Regions from separate parts of the Homo sapiens genome. Here region 2 is linked to region 1. Evidence: promoter capture Hi-C in human tissues and cell types (Jung and others, 2019). All regions are on one chromosome and are shown on one strand. Each heading gives the region's core, a stretch centred on a gene start or on the middle of the fragment in contact. The rest is flanking DNA. Distances are from core to core; before and after follow the strand shown. Region 1 holds the start of DYRK4 (dual specificity tyrosine phosphorylation regulated kinase 4). Region 2 has its middle 19 kb from the start of KCNA6-AS1.

Region 1 (3,314 bases), core at 471-2,970:
ACTCTTCATTATTTTGCAGCTTTCTAATCTGTTGTGTCACCTTTACCTACTTGTCTTACCAGTTTCATGTTCTATGCAAACTCCAGGGGTCACTTATGTGACAGTGACTGCCAAGTCAGGGTCTGTACCCTATACCATGCTCTTGACAACAGAACCTGTGGATGGTCCACTGACAATTTGATGTAGCAGATCAGTTGTTAAATTCAACGTCTCCTCCTACCCCTGACATCTCTCCTGTGTTTTCTGTTGGTAAATGAATGGCACCACCATCACTGCAGGTGCCAAAGGTGTCATCCTGGGATTGAGTCTTCTCTCGACTTTCACATCCAGTCACCAAGTCTTACTCCATTTCCTAAATTTCTCAAAACTACTCTTCCATGTGCTCTCCCTTACTCTGAAACATCATCACTCACTATTTCTAACAGGCATCCTTGCCTTGATTCTTAACCTACTCGGGCCTACTTCCATTGTTATTGCCACAGAGGGTTTTATAAAATAAAGTCAGCATGAACACCCCTCTGCAGTCTGCACATACACACCTTACCCTGGTCGAGTTCATAGCCTACTTGGTGTCTGACTCCCCCTTTCCTGCTGCTTCAACCTTGTCTCTGCCCACGTGCAACTTTGATCCCTGCCCCACTAAACTGGGTGCTGGCACAATGGTACCAAGCTTTTCTATGGCTCTGGCCTTCAGAATAGGACTTGCCTCCTTTACGTAGACAACTACTGCCTGTCCTTGAAGACTCAGATTCAACTCAGCTCTTTCAGAAAGCTTCATTTGAATGTCTTTTCTGCCTGGACCAGACTGTGCACCTCCAGGTCAACCTACTGCCACTCAATTACAAATTTCCCTTTTCATGCTTTCTACAATCTGGTGCAGAGTAAGCACTCAAAAAGTGTTCAGCTGATATATGGATTTTACCCAGAACTTTTGCTATGTACTTACTTTTTTTCTTTTTCTTTTTCTTTTTTTCTTTTTTTTTTTTTTTTTTGAGATGCAGTCTCGTTCTGTCGCCAGGCTGGAGTGCAGTGGCGCGATCTCGGCTCACTGCAACCTCCGCCTCCCGGGTTCCAGCGATTCTCCTGCCTCAGCCTCCCAAGTAGCTGGGACTACAGGCACGCACCACCACGCCCCGCTTATTTTTGTATTTTTAGTAGAGACGGGGTTTCACCATGTTGGCCAGGATGGTCTTGATCTCTTGGCCTCGTGATCCACCCGCCTTGGCCTCTCAAAGTGCTGGGATTACAGAAAAAAATGTCTAAATAGAGACAGGGGCGGGGGGGTCTCACTACTTTGAGCAGTTTGGTCTCGAACTCCAGACCTCAAGTGGTCTGCCTAGGCCTCCCAAAGTGCTGGGATTGCAGGTGTAAAACCACCGCGCCCGGCCAGAACTTCTGTGATGTAATTCTGATAACCACATGCTTCGCTTGAAGAAGGGGAGAGAGTAGGGATAATTTCATGTGTCCGGTCTGGGCAACCAACTTTAAGTTCTTTATGCTGGGATTTTGTTCAATTCTTGCCCTATACTTTAAAGAACTGGGGCAAGAGAATGCGAGTAGGAGGACGAGGAGTATGTTCTTCAGGCTGCTACTCTGCAAGGTGGTTTGGGACCACAGCCTGAGAAAGCCCTTCCAGCTCTGGAGTCATAAAAAGGGCGGGAGCCGTTTCTATAGCGACGGGAGGAGGGCGTGGCCGTCCCTTGCCCTCTGCCGGGCTCTCACAGCCTCCCGCAGCGGCGGGCGGTCAGCGCCGGCCTCATGCAGCTCCTCCCGCCGCCTATCCGCACCGGAACAAAGTAAGGGCCGCGGAGGCTCGTACTTCACGAGCAGTCAGGCGCGAGTACGAGGCAGGCGACGAAGCTTCTGGTCGACGGGGTCGTGGGGGGAGAATGAAAAGCGTGCAGAATGCAAGAGCTGACCGGGGAATGTGGGTCAGAGAGAGGCGGGCTGTGGTGCGCGGACAAGAAAATACAGTTGTAGTTTTTGCAGCAGCTGCATCCCCGGAATCCGACGTCAGTATACTTCCATGTTAAGATGCTGTCGCATCGGCGACTCCAGCTGAGTGCAGGACAGGGAGCGAGGGGTTCTGAGGAACTCAGCAGACCTATCCTGGAACTGTGCTTCCAGCCCTCACTGGGACGCCAGACTTTCTTCCTCCCTTTCTTTCTCTTCTTTACTGCATGTCCTCTTGGTAGTCGTAAGTGGGTCCACGACCACACGCCTCGCGTGGATGAGGCTCTGGCAGGCATTACTCATGTTCCCACCCAGCCCATATGCCCGGGCACCTCTGTGCTCAACCAGGGCCCAGCCCCTGACACAAAAGCGCGCGAAGGTGTGTGTAGATCACACACCCAGAGCTGCCACTCAGGAAATTCCCAATATTAGCAAATCTTTCCTTAAAAAAGAGATGAACAATGCACAATTTGAGGGTTTTTAAAGGCTATTCTGTGACATTTGCTGCATTTGAAATGTCCAGCAGCCCCTCAAAGCTTAGGAAAACCGTGACCCCTCTGACATGTCTTAAGCAACGGACAGCATCACCAATATTAATTCAAGCTTCACTGTCCAGGCTTAAGTGGAGACTCGGCAAAAGCAGGAGGCCATTTAGTGGAAAAGTTCAAACCGTGGAAACAACAAATGAAAATGTCCTTTGTCTTGCTTGAGCGATTTGATCACCTACATGTGGTCGGTATGTAAAACCTAGGAGTTCGAAGAAATTCTTCAAACATGCACTCTACCTTATTGTTTCTGTTACTTAAATCTGTTGTTTCTCTTGTTTGTTTTGGTCCTTATGGAGAAAGCAGAGGTAAATCGGAAGGGACTCTCTAGCAATATGCCAGCCACTCTTCCCTGACTTTGCCCTCTCCAACTCCACATATTGTTGCCTGCAACTTGGCTAGAATGCATAGTCCTCAAGCGTGTGGAGGACCCAGTGCTGGGATTTAGTGGTTTTAGCTGACTCTAAGCCCATCGTGAGTGTGTTGTGATGGCTCCCCAAAGAGCAAATGCTGGTGGAGGCTGCATTCATAGAAATGCAATGACCACATCAAAGAATATGGTCGTGCTGCCTGACTTAGCAATGAGTAGAACATAATCCAGACTCTAGAAACTGTAGCTACTTTGAGATCACAAAGAACTGGAAAATAGGAACAACCACAAGGCAGGCTCTCTCTGTCAGGCCTGGGTGTGCCATCACATGAAGAGAGGTTTGAAAAAACTTCACAGAATGCCTGGAGATGAGGAGATGCAAGGGAGAGAAAGCTTTTTTCTACTCAACTTTTGAACATTCAAGAACTCTTGAGTAGAAAAGAGAT
Region 2 (3,569 bases), core at 539-3,038, 290 kb after region 1:
TTAAATCTTGCCCCCTCCCAAGTAAAATGCTATTTCTCCAGGGGCTTTCCATCATCTGCAAATTGGCTTTTAATATTTTCATCCACTATTCTGATTTATTTGTCTATGTAATTTACCTCCTCTCTCCTCCGTAAAATTTTCCTACACTGTTATTTTTGTAGGGTTTCAGGAGGGAGCAAAAAAAAAAAAATCCAACTTTAAAAAAATGTTTTTTGAGATGGAGTTTTGCTCTTGTTGCCCAGGCTGGAGTGCAATGGCTCGATCTCGGCTCACCGCAACCTCCGACTTCCAGGTTCAAACGATTCTCCTGCTTCGGCCTGCCGAGTAGCTGGGATTACAGGCATGCACCACCACGCCCGGCTAATTTTGTATTTTTAGTAGAGACGGGGTTTCTCCATGTTGGTCGAGTTGATCCCAACTTTTTAATCAGCCATTTTAAACTCTAGATCAGATGGACTTCCCCAGTAATGTTTTCTTTGGGCTTATATAAAAATTACGGTGCATTCAGTGGCTCACGCCTGTAATCCCAGCACTTTGGGAGGCGGAGGCAGGCGGATCACGAGGTCAGGAGATCGAGATTGAGACCATCCTGGCCAACACGGTGAAACCCCGTCTCTGCTAAAAATACAAAAATTAGCCGGGTGTGGTAGCGGGCGCCTGTAATCCCGGCTACTCGGGAGGCTGAGGCAGGAGAATCATTTGAACCCCGGGAGTCGGAGGTTGCAGTGAGCCAAGATCGCCATTGCACCCAGCCTGGCGACAGAACGAGACCCCATCTCAAAAAATAAAAATAAAATAAAAATTAATAAAATAAAATAAAAAATTACGGTGCATTCCCTAAGAACATGCTGTAGGTGGCGCCATAGAGCAGTCCAGGGAGAAAGCTTATGATGTTTAATTTACATTCATAGCAGGAGAATTGAGTCTAATGACCCGTAGCGTTTGGAACTTGTGTTCAGGCACCTGACACAACTCCACATTTATGAACGCAAAAGTGCCTGTACAGTCTTTTCCTGAATCACATGTGTGTGGGAAGAGCAATGAGCTTTCTGTTCATTTCCCTTTGAAACAACCAAAGAAAACTTTGACCATTTGCTAAGGTGTTACCTTTCACCTGATGGCCACTGGAATTTCACACAGAGATTTTTGCTCTTTTTTTTTTTTTTTTTTTTTTTTTTTACCACTTTGCAAGAGCTATTGCACCCTGACGAAGCCAGCAGGAAGCCTCTGGGCAATGTCCTTGTGAGTCTGACGCCAGACAGTCAGTGACTGTCACCAGGCAAACTGCTGTCCTGAGCACCAGGCTTTACAGTTAAATTTGTGCTTGAGTAAGATTACAAGTTACTCCATGTTATGGACCTTTGGGCTTGCTCCCAAATGATTTAAATTACAAATATGAAGTCTTTTCCTTCTGCAGAAATCTATTGCATGGGCACAATCATGATACCAACTGGAGTTTATGGAAACCTTATTTACCTTTTCCAAAGCAGTTTCACAAACACCTTGTTGTCGTTGCTTCCGTTTCACGTGCAGAAACAGAAATGACAATGATTGCTGGTTTGTTTGGCTACGCTGGCTTGCCCTTGGAGTGCTTTGTGGTAGTCACAGAGACACACGCATTGTGTCAGGTATGACAAGTGAGGAGTTTAACTTTGCCCAGGCCACGGCAGAGGCGGATGTTAAACACAGGACTTCGGGCAGCACATCTCACAGGCTTTGCAATAGAGTGTGGGCCAGATGGTAAAGGCAGCAGAGAGATCAGTCACGCAGGGGACAGCCAAAGGGGCTCTTGGAGGTGGGGGTTCAGCCGGGCCTAGAGGGACTGGACTCAGCATTGTGGGAAGGAGACTCGAGAACATTCCGGCATGGTAGGGGCGGGGTAAGGAGGAGCCAGGTGGTGGCAGGAACTCTTTCAGGGAGAGAGGAACGCGCCTGACGCTGGTGCAGGCTGAGGGTCCGAGAGGGGGACCCCTCGACCATGTGGATGGTGGGAGGTGTCAGGGAGCAGTGAGAGCAGCTGGATAGATCAGATGAGACTGTGCCTTCTGGGGCCTGGAAGTCAGGCACATGGCTTGGACTTGACTCTAGAGGGACTCAGGGGCCATTAAAGGTGGAGTATTAATGACAGCAGTATTAAGGACAACACGGGCAGAAATGGCTTCAGGTTGTACAAGCTCATAGTCACTGATTAGTTGCTGGAGTTCAGTGGGTGGCAGTGGGAGGTACAGTTTGAACAGACCAGAGCACCTAAGGATGGGGACTCGGTAGGAGCTCACTAGGCAAATGCCAGCGGGGTGAGGAAGGACACTGGTGTGTCCAGGTTTCTCAGTTCCATCCCTCATGCGACACAACCTCATATCACTAACTACATGTCCTTTTGTTCTGGTTCCTCCCTGGCAGGAAAAATGCTGGCAGGTGGTGCAAGCAAGGACATCTATGCATAGAATTCTGACAGCAGCTGGACCCTCAACTTCTTCAGAAGACGAGAACCCTGCCTGGCACCGCTGGCAGGCATCTGGCCTGACACCGCTCTGGAGGCCTCCCACAAGCAGCAACCAAGCCAGAAAAAGTTGAGACCAGACCCGTTGTCCCTAAAGATGGGGCCCAGAATGTTGGGGTGAAGCTGTAGGAACAGGGTGAAAGCTGGTGGTGTGAGCAAAGAGACCAGCTATGGGGTGGTCAGGGGATTCCGGGAGGTGCATGGGTATGTTGCAGACCCCCCCAGGACAAGGGTGGCTGTGGAAGAATGGCAAATAAACACAAGGCAAAGTCTCAGAGGCTGTGCATTATGCCATGAGAAAACGTCGACGGCCAAGTTAGGCAGACAAGCCAAGCGGTCTCCACAAGAGTAGGCAGGGATCCAAAATTCAGAGCACCTGCAGCTTGCTGGGCATCCTCACTACACAGGAGGATGTGATGGCCACACATAGATCACCAGGAAGAGGGCTTGATCACCCTCTGCCATGAGCCGGCCCACAGATAGGGGACATTCTGCAAGAAAGTAAGATGCGTAACCCATGATCTAAGAGTTATCTGCCTCTGATAGACACACGAGTGGGCAAATATCAAGGGCAGAGTTATTTTTTTACATGGACTTCCCAGAGGCCAGATGATGCTGTGTGCGGGGTCTCCCAGGTAACAGTAAGGATGTTCTTTCTAGTCACCCGCATTGTTCTTGCAACTGACAGCTGTTCTCTCTTGGCCTGTCCTCAGTGGAAGGGGGTAATGCTACTTCTTAACAATCAAACAAGCCCTTGCACTCTTCTAGGATCTCTGGTGGGGGACATTCCCACTGCTAGTCACTCATTCACGTATCTTTTCCACTTCCTGACAAAATGAAGGACTAGGATGATTTTCTTGTGTGGAATTTTGTTTCCTAATGAGGTGTTGCTGAGGCTCCAGGTTGCTTTAATGCCCACACCCTCCCAGATTGTCCTGAGTGCTGGGGCTTCATGACGTTGCTGCAGAAGTCTGGACAGCAGGGACCGTAGCCTTCGCCATGTGTCTAGCAGAGCACCTGATACAGAATTGTCACTCATACAATGTGTGGTGAATGAATGAGTGAGGAA

The links. Contacts are between HindIII fragments. The study calls those that stand out against the background at their distance.
Region 2: a fragment that was not itself captured here is called in contact with the fragment with the promoter of DYRK4 in region 1 in 1 of the 25 tissues and cell types used here (hippocampus).

What each region holds. Positions count from the first base shown.
Region 1 is chr12:4,560,488-4,563,801 of GRCh38, forward strand. DYRK4 (dual specificity tyrosine phosphorylation regulated kinase 4) reads left to right here and starts at 1,721. Exons shown (of 15, transcript NM_001394779.1): 1 at 1,721-1,796. The coding sequence starts at 1,759. RefSeq lists a silencer at 1,556-1,850. The HindIII fragment of the contact is 2,169 bases long and covers 6-2,174 here.
Region 2 is chr12:4,848,338-4,851,906 of GRCh38, forward strand. It overlaps a transcript of KCNA6 not described here. Among named protein-coding and RNA genes, the nearest start is that of KCNA6-AS1, 19 kb to the left of the region's middle. The HindIII fragment of the contact is 3,240 bases long and covers 169-3,408 here.